3 separate regions of the Homo sapiens genome follow, and all the other regions are linked to region 1. The links are contacts of gene promoters, found by promoter capture Hi-C in blood cells and fetal thymus (Javierre and others, 2016). All regions are on one chromosome and are shown on one strand. Each heading gives the region's core, a stretch centred on a gene start or on the middle of the fragment in contact. The rest is flanking DNA. Distances are from core to core; before and after follow the strand shown.

What was found. The method cuts DNA at HindIII sites, captures the fragments that hold promoters and counts their contacts. A CHiCAGO score of 5 or more calls a contact.
Region 2: a fragment that was not itself captured here is called in contact with the fragment with the promoter of XKRX in region 1 in 1 of 17 cell types (naive B cells); the score reaches 5.6 in naive B cells.
Region 3: a fragment that was not itself captured here is called in contact with the fragment with the promoter of XKRX in region 1 in 1 of 17 cell types (total B cells); the score reaches 5.0 in total B cells.

Annotation. Positions count from the first base shown.
Region 1 is chrX:100,927,241-100,930,333 of GRCh38, reverse strand. It overlaps XKRX (XK related X-linked), which reads left to right and starts at 1,417. Exons shown (of 3, transcript NM_212559.3): 1 at 1,417-2,364. The coding sequence starts at 2,030. RefSeq lists enhancers at 771-820, 2,014-3,093. The HindIII fragment of the contact is 22,335 bases long and covers 1-3,093 here.
Region 2 is chrX:101,079,571-101,082,555 of GRCh38, reverse strand. The region is part of intron 1 of TMEM35A (transmembrane protein 35A); the gene reads right to left. Among named protein-coding and RNA genes, the nearest start is that of TMEM35A, 2.2 kb to the right of the region's middle. The HindIII fragment of the contact is 152 bases long and covers 1,605-1,756 here.
Region 3 is chrX:101,102,976-101,106,091 of GRCh38, reverse strand. The region is part of intron 4 of CENPI (centromere protein I); the gene reads right to left. Among named protein-coding and RNA genes, the nearest start is that of CENPI, 6.3 kb to the right of the region's middle. The HindIII fragment of the contact is 5,027 bases long and covers 1-3,116 here.

The DNA of each region.
Region 1 (3,093 bases), core at 168-2,667:
ATCATCATTATTATTATTATTATTATTATTATTATTATTATTATTAAGACGTAATCTTGCTCTGTTGCCCAGGCTGGAGTGCAGTGGCGTGATCTCAGCTCACTGCAACCTCTGCCGTCCGGGTTCAAGTTTTTCTCCTGCCTCAGCCTCCTGAGTAGCTGGGATTACAGTCACGCACCACCACGACCAGCTGATTTTTGTATTTTTAGTAGAGATGGGGTTTCACCACGTTGGCCAGGCTGGTTTCGAACTCCTGACCTCAAGTGATCTGCCTGCCTCAGCCTCCCAAAGTGCTGGGATTACAGGCGTGAACCACTGTGCCTGGCCTTCATCTATATTATTACCAGGAGGCAGATGTGTTCTCTTTTTCTCTGAGGTTTAGAATTATGCAAATGAAGATATGAAAACAAAAGCTCAGTGAGGTGGGGAGGATTACACTTAAGAATACAGGTAATTTTCAAAGCTCTTTAAGACACCCCTCTCAGTTTTTACTAACAGCTCTCTCTTGGCTCTTTGCCAGTCTGTTTAGAATTTGGCACCTCTTCATAACCTTTCAACCAAAGACCTGTAAGTTCATTCTAAAGCTCCTATCCTGGCCTCATTTTGCAAGTGGAGAAATCAAGGCATAAAATATGAGCTTTCAGTGTCTGTGGGCTGACCTTGAGTCTTGACCTTTATCCTGTTCTATCTTCCCTCCGCCGAAAACTCTGACCCTATTCCTCCCAGGTTCCCCCTTCATGATATTATCTGGAGGGCAATAGGACCTAGGGAGGTTCCACCCTGCGGCGGAGGGAGACACACCTGCCTAACAGCGTGGGTAGAGTGAGTGTTGAAGCAAGTCACTTAACTAGTTAGGGAGGGCGGGGTAGAAGTGGGGGCCTGCTGCTCCTAGGGAGGAGTAAAGCTGTGGCTCCTGCCTGGGTCTGGAGGTGGTGGTCAGAAGTGCTTCTGAAGAGCGGCCCAAGCCCCTTTTTGTCCCGCCACTCCACAACGAGCATCCCTCGGCTGGCCGCCTGCCCGGGAACTCTCCGGCTGGTTTTGTTTGGCCGCAGCCGTCCCGCCCATCTCGCCCGCCCCCGCCGTCCCGGTGCCTTAGTTTTTGAAGCTGCCGACCTCTCGCAGCTGGAATCGCAGACCAGGCAGGACCCTGGCAGCAGACGGCGTCCAAGAGTTTGGCGACCTCCGTCCAGCCAGGTTGGCGCCCCGCACATCGTGCCTCTCACTAGCAAAGTTTCTCCGAGGAGAAGCAGCCCCTCCAGCCTTTTCTTCATCCTGTAGAGCGAGCGCGCTCTGCTTCTGTCCCTCAACACTGCATTCGGAGACAGGGTGGTGACAATACTCCACTCCCGGGCCAGGCGGTCTTGGGGGCGGGGCTTGGGGGAATCCGAGGAGCTATCCTGAGAACCCTGGACTCGGCAAAGGTCCTGAGAGCGCGCAGGTGAGCGGGCCAGCTGATAGCTACAGCCTAGCAATAGCTAGGATACCTAGGCACTGAACTGAATCCCCTCTTCTGCCCTCCTTCTTCTGCGCCCGCTCTTCTGCCCTGGCTCAGCTCTCCGCTGACTTGAGAGGACACACTGGTCAGGACTCTTTGTGAGGAGCTGCTGAGTGTCGGTGCCCCCGACAGATCGGCTACACCCTGCCTGAGGGGCTGCGAAAGGAGCCGCCACGGAAGCCGCTGTTCTCATGACTCTTCACGTCCCTGGAGTTGGACTCTGGATGGGGCGCTGGGATGCTTGCTTTTGTCTTGTTCAAGTTTCACAGCAAGTATGTTGACGATTGGAATCGGGGCCAATCAAGAGTCAAGTTCAAAGTGGTACTCCTGGGCTTTCCATCCCAGACTCCAAGTCGAATCTGAGTCTAGAAGAGAGCGGTTTCTTGCTCTAACTAGTGAATCTCTGTTCCCAAACTGGACTTGACAGAGCTCTCCTCACCTATACTTGGACTGTAGCGGCCATAGGGTTCTCTTGGGGATGGGTGGGAGGGTGCTATGAACACAAGACCACAACATTCAGAAAGAACCTCGACAATGGACAGAGTTTATGAAATTCCTGAGGAGCCAAATGTGGATCCGGTTTCATCTCTGGAGGAAGATGTCATCCGTGGAGCCAACCCCCGATTTACTTTTCCATTTAGCATCCTTTTCTCCACCTTTTTGTACTGTGGGGAGGCTGCATCTGCTTTGTACATGGTTAGAATCTATCGAAAGAATAGTGAAACTTACTGGATGACATACACCTTTTCTTTCTTTATGTTTTCATCCATTATGGTCCAGTTGACCCTCATTTTTGTCCACAGAGATCTAGCCAAAGATAAACCGCTATCATTATTTATGCATCTAATCCTCTTGGGACCTGTTATCAGGTGAGCAACTTTTAAATCTTTTCCTTACCCCCCTAACCCCACCCCAGACTTGGGCAGAGAAAGATGAAAGATTTACAAGATGGATACTATGGCTCTAATCAATTCTCTCATTTCCTCCCACTCTCGGCTTCCCTGTCTACCATTCAGAAAACTTACCTGAAATCTTAAATGCCACCATGATGAACATGTGGTATGTACTTGTGTTCCAAAACAATGAACGATGCTATTTGGCCTGTGTAAACTAGAATGGGAACAACAAGACGTGATCACCCTGTGCATGAAGGCCATAGCTGCAGAGTGTGTAATTTTATTTAAAAAATTTTTTTTTTCTGAGACAAGGTCTTGCTCTGCCTCCCAGGCTACAGTGCAGTGGTGCGATCATGGCTCACTGCAGCCTTGATCTCCTGGGATCAAGCGAACCTCCCACCTCAGCCTCCAAGTAGCTGGGACCAAAGGAATGTGTCACCATGCCTGGTTAATTAAAAAAAAATTTTTATAGGCCGGGTGTGGTGGCTCATGCCTGTAATCCCAGCACTTTGGGAGGCTGAGGCGGGTGGATCACCTGAGGTCAGGAGTTCAAGACCAGCTGGCCAACATGGTGAAACCCCTGTCTCTACTAAAAATCAGCTGGGTGTGGTGGCGCATATCTGTAATCCCAGCTACTCTGGTGGCTGAGGCAGGAGAATCACTTGAACCCGGAAGGTAGAGGTTGCAGTGAGCCAAGATCGG
Region 2 (2,985 bases), core at 431-2,930, 150 kb before region 1:
TCACCCAAAGCATTTCTTGAACACATACTATAGCAAACACTGTACCAGACACTTTTATACATAATCTCAGTTAATGTTTACAGCCTTCTAAGGTAGGCACTCCTTCCCCCCACCCCCCGCCCTTAGGATGGTCTGTTTCTTAAGTGGTAGGCATTCTTATCCCCATTTTAAGAATAAAGAAACTGAGACACCAAGAGTAGCAGGACCTGAACCCAAGCCTGTGTGACCATAAAGCCTGCACTCTTTCCACTAACCCTTGCTGGCTTCTCCAGTAGAAACAGGAGAAAAGTTCATAGTCATTTGTTTGGTTTTTTAGCAATGATTCTCCCTGGAGAAGATAACACCTAAGAATTACACAAATGATTTTAAAACAAGAAAAAAAATAGTTGGCAGAAAAGCAAAAAAAAAAAAAAAAAAAAAAAGAAAGAAAGAAAAAGAAAAAAGAAATCAAATCAAAAATCTAAATTTTAAAAATTGATTTTGTAGTAAAACAAAATTGAAAATATGCATTGGGCAGTTAAACTGGTACAATAAAAGGAGGAAGACTGTGCCAGGTGTTCTCAAGAATCGGTTGTCAGTTCTGGCATCCATAAAAACCAACAGTTTTAACCATTAATGATCTTTCTATTGGGAGTATTGAGTCATGGACTTGGTTTCTCATCTCTGCTCCAACAACAGCTTACCTTTCTGGCCTTGGATATGTCATTAAACTTGTTCTGCTTTAGTTTATCCATCAGTAAAATAAAAATAACGAATACACTAAATCTACCTCACAGACATGTTCTAAAGAACAAATAATCTTAAAACAACAACAGCAGCAACAACGCTTTGAGATCTTATAAGAAATGCCACTGCAGTCAATACATGACTAACCTCCTCGATGCAGAGGAATCCACTCCTTAATGGAAAACAAAAAATCCCAGATAATCATCCCAGCTGATCTAGGGTTGGGGTTCTGAGAGACTCTGCCTCTGAGAGACAGGGGCTTCTTAGAGAGTCCCTCTAAGAGGCAAGAAATGGCTCCTGAACTGCATAATCAAGAGCCAAACAGAGAAATCTGAAGGGTGGTAACAAGCCAAGGCAATGCTACAATGACTCATTCATTCACCCAACCACTCCACAAATACATATTGAGCACCTTCTCTGTACTAGAACTGAATTTCCCTCCCTTTCCTATGGGAACGAGAATAAAGCTGGGCCAAGCCCAGGCACTATGCAGTAGGCTTTATGCCAGAGAGCAATCTCCAGTCTATGGCCCGATGCTCAATGCAGGAGAGGACCCTGGAAAAGGGCAGTCTGAAAATCCTCTTCAAACTATTGTGACGTCTACTTCTCAGTTAGATACAATCTTTCCATTCCCTCTAGATGCCCCTAGCACAGAAGTGCAGAAGTGTGCATACACACCCACACACAATGGTTCTATATTGCTGTGTTACACTATATCTATTTAAATATGTTCCTATGTATGATATGAAATCTTCATATTTGTTTCTTCTGCCTTTCATTAGGCTGCACTAGACAGCTCCATTTCTAGGAAGAAACATACTGTAAACCCATTTGTGGCTGGTCCTCCTTGTGAGCTCCTGCTAAGCTGGTAGGAAGCTTCCCGGTGACTCCATCTTAGTTGGATTGCCTGCAGAGCCTAACACTGTACTTAGGGTGCAGCTTGGGGGGGCCTCTGAAGCAGCTGACTAGGGTCTGGAGGGCAGGGAGTATACTGAAGAAAGGTAGTGTGTCCCTAAGGCTAGGGAAAGCTTACACATACCTATGATGCACACACACAAATATATAAATATATGTACATATGAAAAGTAAAGCAAGAGCATGTTCATTTATTCATAATCTAACACCAAACTGCTACCACCAAGACAGAAATATAATGGCATTTCCCCTCCACCCTGTCCCTCTGTCCCAACCTCTTCAAGCCATTTGGTGGCTTCTGCTACCCCACCCTGTCCCTCTTCTCCCAGTGCAGGCTGCCTCGGGTACTCATTTTGACCTGATTTCAATTCCATCTGGTCAAACATGCTGGGAGGAGGGGAAGGGAGAAGGAGAAGCATGTAAGGATTTGCCACTGGGGCTAGACCTAAGCCCTTGTCACCCTCCCCAACCCTAGGGTGATCCTGCGGTGAGGAAGAAATGGAAAGCTCCAGCTTAAACCCTGAGACAGAAGCCAGAGCTGCCTGCAAACATTTTCTGAGCATCTATTAATATAATTTGCCAGTCTCCATCCATTTGCAGCTCACGTTAAGGGGCCCTGGAAAGCTCTGCAGTGGGTTCAGGAGAGCTATGAATTCCTCGCAATGTGTGAGGCTGTTCCTCCCTGCCTCAGCCCTAAAAGGGCTTGCCTCTTTTCTCTTTCCCCTTCTGTTCCTCCCCTAAGCTCCTTTCTCTCTTGACCTTGAGAGCCCAATGATGTGCTCCTTCCCATTATTGGAAGTCTGGCAAAGGCGACGAGAAGCAGCTGGGGTGGGGAAAAGAAGAGGCAAAGTGACAGGGGAAGAAGGGACAGACCCGAAAGTGCTGGAAACATTCCCTGCCATCTCCTAGTACTCCACAGCATAAGAGCAAGTCCTCATCACGCCCAACTGGGGAAAGCAGCCCAGCCCCCAGGTTGCAGAGGAGATGTTTTGGCCAGTCACCTTCCGTGATTGATTCCAACTCTGCAGAGGGGAAAACCTGCAGAGGGCCTGGCTCTGGTCATCCACAGAAGGCAAGGTGGGGATTACGGACTGTTTGCGGGAGAGAAAAAGCAGACTTTGCAGATTTTGTAGATTACCCCACACACAAAACAAAATAAAACAAAACATCTAGCTCTCCCTTGAGAGAAGGGGAAGAAACAAGAGCTTAGTGACCTTTATTTGGGCCAAGAATGCTTTGTCTCAAGGATCCAGATACATACCCAGGTGGCTGGAGGAATACTATCAGCTGTCTGCCTGGGATGAGGAATACCAGTCAGCCCCTAAAAATTGCTTGTTTTAGTAG
Region 3 (3,116 bases), core at 46-2,545, 180 kb before region 1:
AAGAGTCTAAAGTCCCTTTGTACCTAATTATGATGACATTTCTACCATACCTGCCTCTAAATATGCATCTCAACTTACCAAAAGAGCTGCATGTAAAGATCTAGTAGGGATGGGGACATCACAGAAATAACTATAATAAAAGGGAGAAAAGGAATTAAGGAGGCCACATTTGACCTCAGCAAATTCCAGCTTAACAGAAAAAAAAAATGAAAAGTAACAATAGAAAGCCAGAGATTATTTTTTAACTTGCTATATAAAAGTTTCCCGAGTCTGAGGCATGCATTTTGAGACACCTCAAGTCCTAGCAGACATCAAGATAACCTAATCATTAATTTCTGAGATATCAAAAGGAGGCTGGGTGCAGTGGCACGCACCTGTAGTCCCATCTACTTGGGAGTCTGAGATGGGAGGATTGCTTGAGTCCAGAAGGTCAAGGCTGCAGTGAACCATGATCATACCACTGCACTGCAGTCTGGACAACACAGCGAGACTCTGTCACGAAAAAAAAATTTCTAAAATAGAAAACATCTGTATACTCCATACATGTTGTTTTTTTGTTTTGTTTTTTTGAGATGGAGTCTCGCTCTTCACCCAGGCTTGAGTGCAGTGGCATGACCTCGGCTCACTGCAAGCTCCGCCTCCTGGGTTCACGCCATTCTCCTGCCTCAGCCTCCCAAGTAGCTGCGACTACAGGCGCCCGACACCACGCCCGGCTAATTTTTTGTATTTTTAGGAGAGACGGGGTTTCACCATGTTAGCCAGGATGGTCTCGATCTCCTGATCTCGTGATCCGCCCACCTCGGCCTCCCAAAGTGTTGGGGTTACAGGCGTGAGCCACTGCACCCGGCCCCTACTCCATATATGTTTTAAGGTGAGATGGGAGTGGGAGAATTGATCTTGACAGACATTGTTCAGTTAAACATGGATTCCTGGAAAGATATTAGAACCAAATAATCTAAAACCATCTACAAGAAAAAAGCCAATTTTATTAGGTCTAATTTAACTTTCTAGGGAAACAGAGAACTAATCAGATAAAAATAGAGAAATAAAATACTTGACAGTCATATGTTGAATTCGGTTAGTAATGTGTTGTTACTTTAAAATAAATACACACACACCCCTGCAAGTATGCTGCTAGGGTATAAACAAAGGAATCTAACATGCAACAGCCAGGAAATACTTAGTATATAAAGCATTTGGTTTTGAGAGCTGTCTTAATTTTTCTTTTTTTTTTTTTTTCCCAGAGACAGGGTCTTGCTCTGTGGCCCACACTGGAGTACAGTGGCACCATCATAGCTCAAACTCCTGGGCTCAAGTGATTCTCTTGCCTCAGACTCCCAAGTAGCTGGGACTACAGGCACATGCCACTGCACCTAGCTAATTTTTTTTTAACATTTTGTAGACAAGGTTTCGCTTTGTTGCCCAGGCTGGTCTCAAATCTGGCTTCAAGCAATCATCCTGCCTTGGCCCCTCAAAGTGCTGGGATTATAGGCATGAGCCACTATACCCAGCCTTAACTTTTTTTTAAGTAGGAAAAAAAGCAGCAATGTGGTACAGTATAAGCACTAGAATGGGAGTTTGGACATCTTTAAGCAAGTCTCTTTAACTACTCTGAGCCTCTTTTTCCTCACCTTTAAATGAGAGTGTTTAGAGTCTAAAATATCTTCCAAGTCTGAATTTAAATGAGAAAAACTTAAAAGGTTCAAGTAAATAAAATATTGACCAGGTGTTATTTCTAAGAACCTCTTCCAACCATCCCAACCACCACCAATGAATTTAGAACAGGAAAAGATATTTGCACAAAAGAAAAAGCATCTTAGCTGGGCACACTGGCTCACGCCTGTAATCCTAGCACTTAGGGAGGCCAAGGCGGGTGGATCACCTGAGGTCAGAAGTTTGAGACCAGCCTGGCCAACATGGCGAAACCCCGTCTCTACTAAAAATACAAAAATTAGCTGGGTGTGGTGGCACATGCCGATAAGCCCAACTACTCAGAAAGCTGAGGCAGGAGAATCGCTTGAACCCAGGAGGCAGAGGTTGCAGTGAGCCGAGATCATGCCATTGCATTCCAGCCTGGGTGAAAGAGTGAAACTCATCTCAAAAAAAAAAAAAGAAAGAAAGAAAGAAAATGAAGGTAATGAAGTAGACTAAGTGATCTTTTAAGATGCCTTCCAGCAACATTGTTTAAATTACTACGTATGCTTCTTAAGATAAATACTAAAAAATGGTTCTCATGTATTTGGTGACAAAAGTATGTATTTTGCATTTTATCTGTGATGATATATGGTAACTGGTTATTTTTGGCATATGCACACAGAAACTTTTGGCCCAAACACACACACAAAAAAACCCATTTTATAATCTTAACAGATTGGTCTTATGAAGAGAACAGTAAACATAAAAAACTGCAACTAATTCCAATGAACAATGTAATTCAAAGTCTAAAAGGAAGGTCGGACACAGTGGGTCACGCCTGTAATCCCAGCACTTTGGAAGGCCGAGGTGGGCGGATCACCTGAGGTCGGGAGTTCGAGACCAACCCGACCAACATGGAGAAACCCCATCTCCACTAAAAATACAAAACTAGTCAGGCGTGGTGGCGCATGCCTGTAATCCCAGCTACTCAGGAGGCTGAGGCAGGAGAATCGCTTGAACCTGGGAGGCAGAGGTTGCAGTGAGCCAAGATTGCACCACTGCACTCCAGCCTGGGCAACAAGTGCAAAACTCAGTCTCAAAAAAATAAATAAACAAAGTCTAAAAGGAAAAACTAACAGCAAAGTGATGACAAAAGCATCCCAGGCTGGGCGCAGTGGCTCACACCTGTAATCCCAGCACTTTGGGAGGCCGAGGCGGGTGGATCACGAGGTCAGGAGTTCAAGACCAGTCTGCCCAAGATGGTGAAACCCTGTCTCTACTAAAAATACAAAAACATTAGCCGGGCGTGGTGGCAGGCACCTGTAATCCCAGCTACTCGGGAGGCTGAGGCAGAGAACTGCTTGAACCCGGAAAGTGGAGGTTGCAGTGAGCTGAGATTGCGCCACTGCACTCCAGCCTGGGCGATGGAGTGAGACCCAGTCTCCCAAAAGAAAAAAAAATCCCCTCGGCCAGGCACGGTG